4 separate regions of the Homo sapiens genome follow, and all the other regions are linked to region 3. Evidence: promoter capture Hi-C in human tissues and cell types (Jung and others, 2019). All regions are on one chromosome and are shown on one strand. Each heading gives the region's core, a stretch centred on a gene start or on the middle of the fragment in contact. The rest is flanking DNA. Distances are from core to core; before and after follow the strand shown.

Region 1 (3,002 bases), core at 347-2,846, 450 kb before region 3:
TGGTGCAGTCATGGCACACGGCAGCCTTGAAATTCTAGGCTCAAGTGGTCCTCCTGACTCTGTCTCCTGAGTAGCTGGGACTAAAGGCACAAGCTGCCATGCTCAGCTAATTTTTTATTTTATTTTTTGTAGAGACGTGGTCTCACTGTGTTGCCCAGGCTGGTCTCGAACTCCTGGCCTCAAACAGTCCTCCCACCTTGATCTCCTAAAGTGCTGGGATTACAGGCATGAGCCAACATGCCCAGCTTTCAGTCTTTTTTACTGCCACATAATATTCCATTATGTATATATATCACATTTTCTTTCTCAGTCATCCACTGATGGACACAAAGTTGATTCAATATCTTTGCTATTGTGAATAGTGCTGCAATAAACATATGGGTGGAGCTATCCCTTGATATACTGATGTCCTTTCCTTTGGATAAATACTCAGTAGTGAGACTGCTACCTCGCATGGTAGTTCTACTTTTAGTTTTTTTGAGAAATCTCCATACTGTTTTCCATAATGGCTGTACTAATTTACATTCCCACCAACGGTGTGTAAGTTTCCTCTTCTCTGCATCCTGACCAGCAACTGTTTTTTTTTTTTTTTTTTTTTAATCTTTTTCATAGTAGCCATTCTAACTGGGGTGAGACAATATCTCATAGTGGTTTTGATTCCCCCCCCTCTTTTTTTTTTAGACAGAGTTTCTCTCTTGTTGCCCAGGCTGGAGTACAATGAGTACAATGGCACGATCTCAGCTCACTGCAACCTCTGCTTCCTGGGTTCAAGCGACTTTCCTGCCTCAGCCTCCTGAGTAGCTGGGAGTATAGGCGTGTACCACCACGCTGGCTAATTTTGTGTTTTTAATAGAGACGGGGTTTCACTATGTTGGCCAGGCTGGTCTTGAACTCCTGACCTCAGGCCCATCTTGGCCTCCCAAAGTGCTGGGATTACAGGCATGAGCCACCAAGCCTGGCCTTGATTTGCATTTCTATGATGATTAGTAATATTGAGCATTTTTTCATATACTTGATGGCCTTTGTACGTCTTCTTTTGAGAAATGTCTGTTCAGATCCTTTGCCCGCTTTTAAAAATGGAATTGTTTTTGCTGTTGAGTTGTTTGAGTTCCATGTATATTCTGGATATTAATCCCTTGTTAGATGAATGGTTTGCAAATATTTTGTACCATTCAACAGGTTGTTTCTTCATTCTGTTGTTTCCTTTGCTGTGCAGAAACTTTTTAGTTTAAAATAGTCCCATTTGTCTATTTTTGTTTTTGTAGCCTGTGCTTTTGAGGTCTTAGTCATAAAGTCTTTGCCTAGACCCATATCCTAGAGTGTTTCCCCATGTTTTCTTCTAGTAGTTCTACAGTTTGGAGTACATTTAAGTCTTTAATGCATTTTTGAAGGGAGGCTGCCCCTCCACACCTGTGGGTATTTCTCGCAAGATGGAGACGAGCGACTGAGAAAAGAAATAAGACACGGAGACAAAGTATAGAGGAAGAAAAGTGGGCCCAGGGGACCGGCACTCAGCAAGTGAGGACCTGCACTGGCACTGGTCTCTGGTTCCCTCCATATTTATTGATCACTATCTTTACTATCTCTGCGAGGGGAGTGTGGCGGGGCTATAGGGTGAAGGTGGGGAGAGGGTCAGCAGAGGAACATGTGAGCAAAGACTCTGTCATAAATAAGTTTAAGAAAAGGTGCTGTGCCTGGATGTGCACAATCGCTAGATTTATGTTTAAGCTTACATAAACAACTCAGTGCAGTAAAGAGTAACAGAGCAGTATTGCCGCCATGATGTCTCACCTCCAGCCATAAGGTGGTTTTCTCCTGTCTCAGAATAGAATATATGGTCGGTTTTATGCTGAGACATCCAATCCCAGGGACGTGCAGGAGACAGATGCCACGCTCTTATCTCAACCGCATAGAGGCCTTCCTCTTTCACTAATCCTCCTTAGCACAGACCCTTTACGGGTGTAGGGCTGGGGGGCTGTAAGTTCTTTCCCTTCCCATGAGGCCATATCTCAGGCTGTCTCAGTCGGGGGAAACCTGGACAATACCCAGGCTTTCTTGGGCAGGGGTCCCTGCAGACTTCCACAGTGCATTGTGTCCCTGGTTAACAGAGAATGGAGAATGGCGATGACTTTCACCAATATACTGCCTGCAAACACATTTTTAACAAAGCACATCCTGCACAGCCCTCCCTTAAACCTTGAGTCAATACAGCACATGTTTTTGCGAGCACAGGGTTGGGACAAGAGTTACAGATTAACAGCATCTCAAAGCAGAACAATTTTTCTTAGTACAGATCAAAATGGAGTTTCTTTTGTCTTCCTTTTCCTAGATAGACACAGTAACAATCTGATCTCTTTTTCTTTTCCTCACACTTCCCCCTTTTCTTTTGACAAAACCGCCATCTTCATTATGGCCTGTTCTTGATGGTTACTGTCTCTTCGGAGCTGCTGGTTACACCTGTAGACTAACAACAGACAGAATAGGCACACAAGGATTAATATGAAATTTACAATAGTGGAACTTCTGAGGGTTTTAACCCAAGTGACAGGGTTAAGATTTGTGAAGCCATCAGCAGCTCCTGCGATTGCCTAAGTTCCTGGTACGAAATGTAAATGGGCTTTTGATACTTTGAAAATTTGCTCTTTTAATTTTGAAATGTCTAAAGTAAGATTATCTTCTCTTCCCTGTAGATGGCGTCTAACCATGTCCCAGTGATGCTCAGACTCATTATAGGCTCGGGGTGTAATACAAAAATCTGATGTATTCCAGTCACAGTGTAACTGAAAACGATTTCCAAGCTCATGAGCTTATCTCCCATCCAAATGACAGTTTGTCTAAGATCATTAATTGGGTTCGACAATTTTTGATCAATACCAGATTGTGAATTCCACAATCTCATAGAATTTTTTTGCCAATTGTTAACAAAGCGTACTGTCTGAACAGAAGAGTGCAATGCAACTTCTGCCGCAGCAGCCGTAGCTGTGACTGCAATTAATCCCATA
Region 2 (3,271 bases), core at 137-2,636, 370 kb before region 3:
GTGATCAATCAAGTGTGCCCCTGCCACCTCCTGTTTAAAATCCTTCAAGGGCTTCCCACCATAAAGAATCAAGTTCAAATCCTTTAATGTGGCTTACAAGACTCTTCATGAGTTAAGGCTACCAAATCTATACACAACAATCCTCTGAGTGGTTATATGTCATTCACTTTATAAATGAGTAAACCCTAGTGGGTTTAAATCCAGGATCAGCACTTACTAGTTGTGTGACCTTGGACATCTCATTAAACTCATTGAGCCAATGTTCTCTATTAGGCAAACCCTAGTGCAGAGAGTAAACCCTAGCGCAGAGAACATGCCTAAGGTCAGAGAGTGAACATGTCAATGTGAAATGGGTTCTTCCGAAGGGATGAGTATCATACTCCAAAGGATAGACTCAAGTTCAAAATCACCTTTTCTTGGATTAGTCATTGAGAAGTATGGGGATAGGGCATTGTATGGTTCAGGTGAACCGTTCCTTTCAGAGAGCAGCTTAGACACTGTCCCTTGTTTGAAGCTGCCACCCTGACCCCTCTCTCACTCCCACAGCAGCAGCATCATTAATAAACTTGGTGTAATGAACAAAATGTTCATTAGCATGTAATACGGTATACATATGCACGCTTATGTCCAAGATGCCCTGCTACCATAAGCTAAGCATCAAACGAAAGCCAACCAATGAACCCCTGCAACTTCACAAAAAACAGCCCTCAAAACGACAGGTATAACACACCCAATGCCTAGTGAACTTCTAAACTCATCAATTCAACTGATCATGACAGAAGCAGCTTTGGTATCTATGGTCTTTCCCCCTTGTCATTGTCTTAGAAAGAATTAACCCTTCCCGGCCCCCTTCCCCTCAAAAAGGAGGCACTACACTAAACAAGCTTCTACACTGCAACTGGTTAAAAGAAAAAAAAAAAGTTTCTCCAAAACTGTAATAGGTGTCTCAGCTGCAGGAGAAAGGGCATGGCTTTGGACAGAGACAGAACAAGGTTTAAATCCAGGATCAGCCACTTACTAGCTGTGTGACCTTGGACATCTCATTAAACTCCATGAACCAATGTTCTCTATTAGGCATATACATTTCCCCCACATACTGTTATTCACCACGCCCTCCTCATTTGGCCTCAATATTTTTAGAATGTAGCCCCCCTCTCTCCATTCTTATTACCATTCTTTAAATAATCCTCTACTGTCACCACAGCAATATTACCATATCATTTCTTTGTTTAAAATGGGTAAGATCAGAGGTTGTTTTTTTTTTTTTTTTTTTGAGACGGAGTCTCGCTCTGTCGCCCAGGCTGGAGTGCAGTGGCGCCATCTCGGCTCACTGTAAGCTCCGCCTCCCAGGTTCATGCCATTCTCCTGCCTCAGCCTCCAGAGTAGCTGGGACTACAGGCGCCCGCCACCATGCCCAGCTAATTTTTTGTATTTTCAGTAGAGACAGGGTTTCACCGTGTTAGCCAGGATGGTCTCGATCTCCTGACCTCGTGATCCGCCCGCCTCAGCCTCCCAAAGTGCTGGGATTACAGGCGTGAGCCACCACACCTGGCTGGTTTATTATTTTAAAATTCTTAACCAATAATTTGGGTAAGAATTTGTGCTATTATATTGAGTATGTTTATTATATGAAATTACCATATGAAATCATCTAACCCCCACCCCTCTATGGGACATAACTGTTAGCATGTTCATGTATTTCCTTCCAGTGTTTTTCTTGCACATTATGTTTGGATTACATGGTTAGATAACTCAACTCTGTAGCCTAATTTTTTCAATTAGCATTATAACACATTTATTATATATATTATAGCATATTTGTCCTTACTGCCGCATAGTTTTCGGTAAGCATCATTTTTTACACTACTGCTTTAAAAGCTCGTGGTTTTCCCTGAGTAGATTTATCATAGTTTAGATTGGTGGTCTTTTAGGCTTTTTCCAATTTCTCACTATTATAAACAATAGCATCTGAGGGAAAGCTTATTGTATAAACTAGACTATTTCCTTAGGACAGACTCCCAGAAGTGGAATGACTGGTCAAATATATGAACATTTTATTGGCTCTGGCAACACATTGCTTAACTGCTTTCCAAAAGAGTTACACCAATTTACACTGTTATCTCCAATGAATGCCACTTTCATGGCAACCTCGCAGCACCATGTATTACCATATTGGGCAGGTGGTGGGGTAGGGAGAGTAGAGGTGAATTAGTAGGGAAAATCAAATCCTCATTACTGTTTTCATGTACATGTGAAGATGTATAGTCTACTGTGTTTACTAGCTTTTGAGTCTACAAAGTTTTGAGTGCCATGAAGTTACTGTAGGTTCCTAGGTAGAGGAATAACATGCTAAAAAGATTTACTCATTTATCAAAAAATCATTTATTGTTCACCTATTACTGCCAGACACTGTATAAAACTACAGAGGTTAATAAAGTACAATCTCCCCCCTGGAAGAATTTATAGTCCAGTCAGTGGTGAAAACCTCAAGAAAACCAGAACCTATGTTTCATCTTGATGAGGTCTATGACAGGAGCAACTAGGAACTTGGAGGCATGTCAATTACCTAAGGGACAGAAAGAAAGGGAGACGACTCAGACAAGAAGAGTCAACAGTAAGTTCCAATCTTGTCCTGAAGGATGAGTTGAAGTTAACCCACACACAGGTAAGAGAGTACATTTAAGAGGAAATAGCATAAGGAAAGTTACAGAAGTTTGACAGAGATCCCACATTTAATGAATAATATGATGTATTGTGGTTTGCCCAGAGTCTAGGATGTAACAAGAAATGATGCCGATGATACTAGAGTGCCTAGCCGAGATCAGATCAGAAAGGGCTTTGTGGACACTGAAGAGTGAGCCATCACCCGTTCTGATGTTGTACGCAGCCCAGTGCTCAGTAAGGAGGCACTTGTAAGTCCCTATAGCTTCTGAGCATCTGAACCACCAATCCAACCCCTGAGCAGAGCATCCCATCTTGTGCCAAACCCTTTTTGTCTCATGTATTAGTCTCCTCTCCTCAAGCAACATAGAGATTTTTGGGCACATTGCTAGACATGTGATGGAAGCACCAATAGTGCCCATGGATCCATTAACTGGAGGTAATATATGCAATAAGACATACTGCTACTTTCTACATTAATAACAGTGACTTTAATGATGTCAAAGATATTAACAAGTTTATTATTTTAACAATCAATATAATAGCAAGGCATTCTTGCCCTGCTAGTTGTGGTATGAGCCGTTGGGCAGTGGGGTCTGATGTGCTGGCT
Region 3 (3,019 bases), core at 258-2,757:
CAAAAAAAAAAAAAGAAAAAGAATAACAAATATCACCTGGAAAGGGGACATGGCATTGTTAAAATGCAGATTCTTGGGCACCTAGAGATTTTAAATTGGCAGGGCCAGGGTGGGCCCAAAATTAGCAAGTGACCACGTGGTTCTGAAGCCAGTGGCCTAAGGACCACCCTTGCAGAACCGTGGTCTCCTTGTCACAGTCTAGGCAGCCTCTGGCTTAGCCTCTGTTTCTTTCATAACCTTTCTCAGCGCCTGCTCTGGGCCAGACCAGTGTTGGGAGGAGTCGCTACTGAGCTCCTAGATTGGCAGGGGAGGCAGATGGAGAAAAGGAGTGTGTGTGGTCAGCATTGGAGCAGAGGCAGCAGTGGGCAATAGAGGAAGTGAGTAAATCCTTGGGAGGGCTCCCTAGAAGTGATGTGTTTTCTTTTTTTGTTTTAGAGACAGGATCTCGCTCTGTCGCCCAGGCTGGTGTGCAGTGGCATGATCATAGCTCACTGCAGCCTCGACTTCTCGGGCTCAAGCAATCCTCCCACCTCAGCCTCCCAAGTAGCTGGGACTACGGGCACACGCCACCATGCCTGGCTAATTTTTGTATTTTTTGTAGAGATGGGTCTTCACCATGTTGATCAGGCTGGTCTCGAACTCCTGGGCTCATGCGATCCACCCCGCCAGCTGATTACAGGGATTCCGGTGGTGAGCCACCGCGCCCAGACGCCACTTCATCGTATTGTAAACGTCTGTTACCTTTCTGTTCCCCTGTCTACTGGACTGTGAGCTCCTTAGGGCCACGAATTGAGGATGGGGCACAGAGCAAGCTCTCCAAACGTTTGTTGAATGAGTGAGGGAATGAATGAGTTCAAGCAGATGCTATACGTTGGCTGTTGGAGATTTTGGCTAAAATGGGACTTGCAGGAAAGCCCGACGTCCCCCTCGCCATTTCCAGGCACCGCTCTTCAGCTTGGGCTCTGGGTGAGCGGGATAGGGCTGGGTGCAGGATTAGGATAATGTCATGGGTGAGGCAAGTTGAGGATGGAAGAGGTGGCTGATGGCTGGGCTGTGGAACTGATGATCCTGAAAAGAAGAGGGGACAGTCTCTGGAAATCTAAGCTGAGGCTGTTGGGGGCTACAGGTTGAGGGTCACGTGCAGAAGAGAGGCTCTGTTCTGAACCTGCACTATAGAAAGGTCAGTGGGATGCGGGAGCGTCGGGGCGGGGCGGGGCCTATGTTCCGGTGTCCCCACGCCTCCAGCAGGGGACGCCCGGGCTGGGGGCGGGGAGTCACACCGCGCCTGGTACCATCCGGACAAAGCCTGCGCGCGCCCCGCCCCGCCATTGGCCGTACCGCCCCGCGCCGCCGCCCCATCCCGCCCCTCGCCGCCGGGTCCGGCGCGTTAAAGCCAATAGGAACCGCCGCCGTTGTTCCCGTCACGGCCGGGGCAGCCAATTGTGGCGGCGCTCGGCGGCTCGTGGCTCTTTCGCGGCAAAAAGGATTTGGCGCGTAAAAGTGGCCGGGACTTTGCAGGCAGCGGCGGCCGGGGGCGGAGCGGGATCGAGCCCTCGCCGAGGCCTGCCGCCATGGGCCCGCGCCGCCGCCGCCGCCTGTCACCCGGGCCGCGCGGGCCGTGAGCGTCATGGCCTTGGCCGGGGCCCCTGCGGGCGGCCCATGCGCGCCGGCGCTGGAGGCCCTGCTCGGGGCCGGCGCGCTGCGGCTGCTCGACTCCTCGCAGATCGTCATCATCTCCGCCGCGCAGGACGCCAGCGCCCCGCCGGCTCCCACCGGCCCCGCGGCGCCCGCCGCCGGCCCCTGCGACCCTGACCTGCTGCTCTTCGCCACACCGCAGGCGCCCCGGCCCACACCCAGTGCGCCGCGGCCCGCGCTCGGCCGCCCGCCGGTACGGACCCCAGGGACGCCGCGCCGACAGCGCCGCCTGTGCCCCCCGCGCAGACCCGGGAGGGCGCCGTGTTTGGCCTGGAGGCGGCAGGGGGCGGGGGAGGGGTTGACTGAGGCGCCCAGGCTGGGCGGTGCAGAGCCGGGGTTGGGCCTCCGGGCCCCGCCCTGGGGTGCGGGGTGACCTCGGGCCGGTCCCTGTTTGCTGCTCTGTGCTCTGCGCCTCAGCTTCCTCACCGGAGCCTCCCCAGCGTCGGACTCAGTGATAATAATAGCCCACGTGTATTCAACTGGCGTTTACTGCATGCCAGGCCTTTGGGCGACTTCAAGCCAGCTAAAACTCACAACCCCGCTGTGAGCTGTGTTGTCACTGTGCCCATCTGACGGAGGAGGAACTGAGGCCCAGAGAGGGAAAGTGACTTGCCCCTGGTCACACGGCTGCAGGTGGTGGGGCTGGGATTTGAACTGAGGCCTGCTGGCTTCAGCTCAGAATTTGCATCTCGGTAGTGAGCACAGCTGCTAGGGGAAGTGAAGGCGGGGCGGAGGAAAGTCCTGGGGCCTAACCGTTGGTGAGCCATTGAGGAGACCCTCCTTCCTGCCTCGATGCTGACTGCCAGGTGCAGGCCTGGCCGGCCAGGCCTCTGGGGACAGCCCTCCTGGCTGGGAGGCCTTCTCTGCAGGGGCGGGGCAGCTGGACCAGCTGCTGATCCCCTCCCTCTGCCTGTCCTTCCATCTGCCACCCTCCACCCTCCCAGGCCCTGGTTGCCATGGAACCTCATTAATCAGGCAGGCCGACCCCTGAGTCTCTGTAGAAGGACTAGGTGGGCTGGGCCTCTGGGAGCTGGAGAGGAGGCCCCCAGTGCCAGGAGAGAAAATGTCTCAGGGAGATCCTTTAATAAAGCCCTCCCTGATCGCTGAGCTCAAGACGAATTCAGACTGGAGGGCCCAGAAGAGGCGGCTGAATTCCAGTGGGAGAAGGGATTGGAGGCGTAGAAGCCTGGAGCTGGGAACTGTGGGGCACAGGGCAGGGTGTGGAGACCAGTTTGACTGGCGCAGCCTATGGGTGAAGGTGGGGCTCTGGTGTGCAGGCGGGGTCTGGCCAGGCAGGATGGGGTCTCAGCAGGGAACTTGGAGC
Region 4 (3,313 bases), core at 132-2,631, 390 kb before region 3:
AGTGTCCTGGGGAGGGGAGGTAGTATGGGGAAACCCCTGTGCTCTACCCTCTGGCCTGGGCAGTGCAGACAGGGAGGGCTCATGGGGAAGGAGTAGGCCAGTAACTCCACCTGCAGAGGACATGGCACTGGCTGGGATGCGTTGGGGGAGGAGGCGCCTGCTGCCAGCTTTCCTCTGGTACCCGCTGGGGGGTGGCATCCAGGGTTGGGTGCCCGGCTTGAGGCCTGGGGCAGCGATGCCCTTCACCTGCTGGTGGCCATTGCTCCTGTCAGGCTGAGAAAGAGAGAGAGAGAAAGAAGAGACTAAGGCTGAGAGGAAGAGACCCTGTTGCTGATAAAAGGGGTAGGGAAGAAAGGGTGGAATGATGTCTGGAGACAGAGAGATTCTTGCACTCTGGCTGTGGCCTCATAATTTCCTGGCCATGTAACCTTGGGCAAGTCTCACCCGCTCTCTGAACCTCCATTTCCTCACCTGAGCCCATATAACTCACCTGTGAACTATTTTAACAAGCTTTGGAAAGCACCAGGCACAAAGGGGTGTAGCAGGATGGCTGGATATGGAGGTTTGTTTGCATCCCAGGCAAAACAAACCAAGAAGTTCCAAAAGAAGACTGCATATGTACAATTTTCTAAAGCTCTTCTGGAAGCCTTTGCTGGTGGGATATCTTACTACAGCATAAATGTGTCATCTATCCAGACACCTCCCTGGAAACACTAGTGTTTGAGACCTTCCTCCACCCAAGCCACCCCAAGGGAATGGGTCAGAGAGTAGTAGGCACAGCCAGGTGTGGCCTGGCTTTCCTTTAAGGTAGGGCAGAGTAGATGGTAAACAGTGGCCAGAGAGTGGGCTTTGAAGCCACACACCACTGGGCTGAAATCCAGGCTCCACCAACTACTACCTTATCTCCCTGCACCCTTTAGTGTCTGTTTCCACATCTATTATATTGGTACAATCATCAGCTTGTGGGATTGAAGATGAACTCAGAGAAAGCAGGTGCAGCTCCTGTCACACAGGGCATTTCCTCCCCATGAAAGAATCAAATCCCAGCCCCTAAGCCTGACACATACGGCCCTTCACAATCATCACCCTCTGACAATAAGCAGAGTCCTCTACCAACTAGGGGGGCACTGCAGCCACAGGAGGCTCTTGGCCTCACCACATACCAAGGACTGTCACAGCTCTGTATGGCTAAGGCCATTCCCCTGGTGTGGAACATTGCTCCCTCAATCACTAGCAGGCTCAGCTACACATCATCTCTTCCATGACCTGGCCTCGCTCTATTGTTATCCTGCTCACACTAGGTGGTAATGGCTTATGTCTTCCTCTACCAGACTAGGAGCTCCTCAAGGGCAGAGACAGGCAACATGGCTGAGTGTGCTGAGGGAAGGAACCCTTGCTAGGTGGGCCCGCCTGGCCCATCTACGGCACCTGCTTCCTCAGCATGGCAAGCCCCAAGCATGAAGGGGTGTGACGGGATGGCTAGATATGGAGGGGACTTCATTCTTGGGTATAGTCAGTGCTACTTGGCCAGGTATGCTTCGTGACACTTCCTGCCCAATCCAGGGAAAAGGCACAACCTCCACTTCACTGATTCCCCACCCTCTGCCCATCAGGACAGGACCCCTGTACCTGCTTACTGCAAGGCCCCATCATCCGCGTCTGTGTCCTGGCTGTGTTCCTGATAGGGAGGAGGTAAGAGAGACCACACATCACTCATTGCCAGCTCTGAGTCCTGCCCTGAGCCATTTGTCCAGAAAAACTTCATGGTCCAGAGGGCATCTAGAGGACACAGTCAGAAGACGCAGGAACAGCCAAGGGGAATGACTATGGGACCAGCCAACAAAGCTGGCTTGGGAACTTGGAAGGGTGGTCTGAGGACCCCACACAGGCCAGTGAAGGGTGTTCTGGGAGTGGCAGGAGCCCCATTTCTGTGCAGAGAGCCTGCACTGGAGAAGGCTGAAAGCCTTATAGACTGGTGAGCTCCCCATCTCTGGGGGCATCCAAGTCTTTGTTAGGGCCTTTATGGACACTGCTATGCCTGAGAAAATAAGATGAAGGATCAGGCTACGCTCAAAGGAGAGATGAGCTAGCATAAGGCAGACCTCCTAACCGTCATGGCCATGAGCCCATCTGTTCTCACGATAGAACCCAGCAGTGCTGAAAAGGAGAAAGCTGCAGATCCAGCAAGTCAGTCTGGACTCCAACCCTGGCTCAGTCCCTACGAGCTGATGCCCTGAGCATGCCACTCAGCCTTTCTGAGCCTCGATTTCCTCACAGGGTAAAATGTGGGAACAGAATACTCTGCATAGTACAGGGCTCTTGTTAAGGTTATGTGAAGTTAGAGAGTATGATCTGGGTCTTGGTGCTCAATGAGCGCTCATTAAGTAAATGAGCAGCAAGTGTACAACCCATATCCCACAGACTCAGAGTTTGGTCCACCCTCCCACTCAACATAAGCTCCTTGTCAAATGGCCTGCCGGCCTCAGCCTGAATAGTTCTAGTAACAGGCGGGGAGCTCACCCCCTTATGAGACAGCTTTTGCTTCATGCTTAAGCAGCAATGGCTTTTAGAAAAACCCACCTCCTGGCTGTGGCCTCCACAAGCCACCCCAGCCCTGCTCTGAAGCTCTGCAGGCCGTGTGTGCTCCCTTATGTCCGAATCTCCCATTCTCCAACTCATGTGGAAACCGGAGGCCAGAATGTGCCCGCATTTGGGGGAGGTCTGCCCTAGGCCTCAGTGGGACTTCTGATGGTGTCTGAGATAGGCAAGTGCCCCCTGCTCATTCTTCCCTCTTTCCCCCAGGACCAGAACCCCTGGGAAGGAGAGAACAGGAAGTTCACAGTGGGGGCAACCAGCTCAGGCTGCCCATTCCCCTGTTGGCCTCCTGAGAGTAGGAGCACAGTCGAGTCCCAGTCGTGCCCCTGGCCAGGCCCTCACCAGCTCTTCCTCGCTGTGTGTCAGGAGCCCTTCCTCATCGCCGTCGTCTCGGGTCCGTGCTTCCCCCTGGGGCAGGCCTGCCTCAGAAGTTGTGTTCTCTTGGGGGGCTGGTGGCCGGCTGCTGCCACCGCCACCGCCACCACCACTGCCACCGCCACCGCTGCCACCACCACCGCCGCCGCCGCCGGCGCCACCTCCATCACCCTTCTTCTTGCCATCTTGAGGGGAAGGGGTGGAGGAGGGGAGAATAAAACTCAGCCTGGGGTAGCTGTCTAGGGCAGCACCTTAGCGGAAGCTGGCCTCAGCATGGTGAGTGCAGGTGGTCCAGGATCTGCAGGGCCACCCTAGCTCCTCTCTCCCATGTACTATTTCCCCA

The links. Contacts are between HindIII fragments. The study calls those that stand out against the background at their distance.
Region 1: a fragment that was not itself captured here is called in contact with the fragment with the promoter of E2F1 in region 3 in 1 of the 25 tissues and cell types used here (lymphoblastoid cells).
Region 2: a fragment that was not itself captured here is called in contact with the fragment with the promoter of E2F1 in region 3 in 1 of the 25 tissues and cell types used here (dorsolateral prefrontal cortex).
Region 4: a contact is called between a fragment that was not itself captured here and the fragment with the promoter of E2F1 in region 3, in 1 of the 25 tissues and cell types used here (dorsolateral prefrontal cortex).

What each region holds. Positions count from the first base shown.
Region 1 is chr20:34,134,963-34,137,964 of GRCh38, reverse strand. No RefSeq gene overlaps it. Among named protein-coding and RNA genes, the nearest start is that of EIF2S2, 24 kb to the right of the region's middle. The HindIII fragment of the contact is 7,856 bases long and covers 1-3,002 here.
Region 2 is chr20:34,055,669-34,058,939 of GRCh38, reverse strand. The region is part of intron 2 of RALY (RALY heterogeneous nuclear ribonucleoprotein); the gene reads right to left. Among named protein-coding and RNA genes, the nearest start is that of MIR4755, 8.2 kb to the right of the region's middle. The HindIII fragment of the contact is 3,702 bases long and covers 1-3,237 here.
Region 3 is chr20:33,684,873-33,687,891 of GRCh38, reverse strand. E2F1 (E2F transcription factor 1) reads left to right here and starts at 1,507. Exons shown (of 7, transcript NM_005225.3): 1 at 1,507-1,888. The coding sequence starts at 1,628. RefSeq lists silencers at 1,168-1,667, 1,778-2,137. The HindIII fragment of the contact is 12,256 bases long and covers 1-3,019 here.
Region 4 is chr20:34,076,870-34,080,182 of GRCh38, reverse strand. It overlaps RALY (RALY heterogeneous nuclear ribonucleoprotein), which reads right to left. Exons shown (of 10, transcript NM_016732.3): 8 at 2,938-3,155; 9 at 1,630-1,678; 10 at 1-273. The coding sequence ends at 1,634. Among named protein-coding and RNA genes, the nearest start is that of MIR4755, 29 kb to the right of the region's middle. RefSeq lists an enhancer at 2,584-3,313. The HindIII fragment of the contact is 3,668 bases long and covers 1-3,215 here.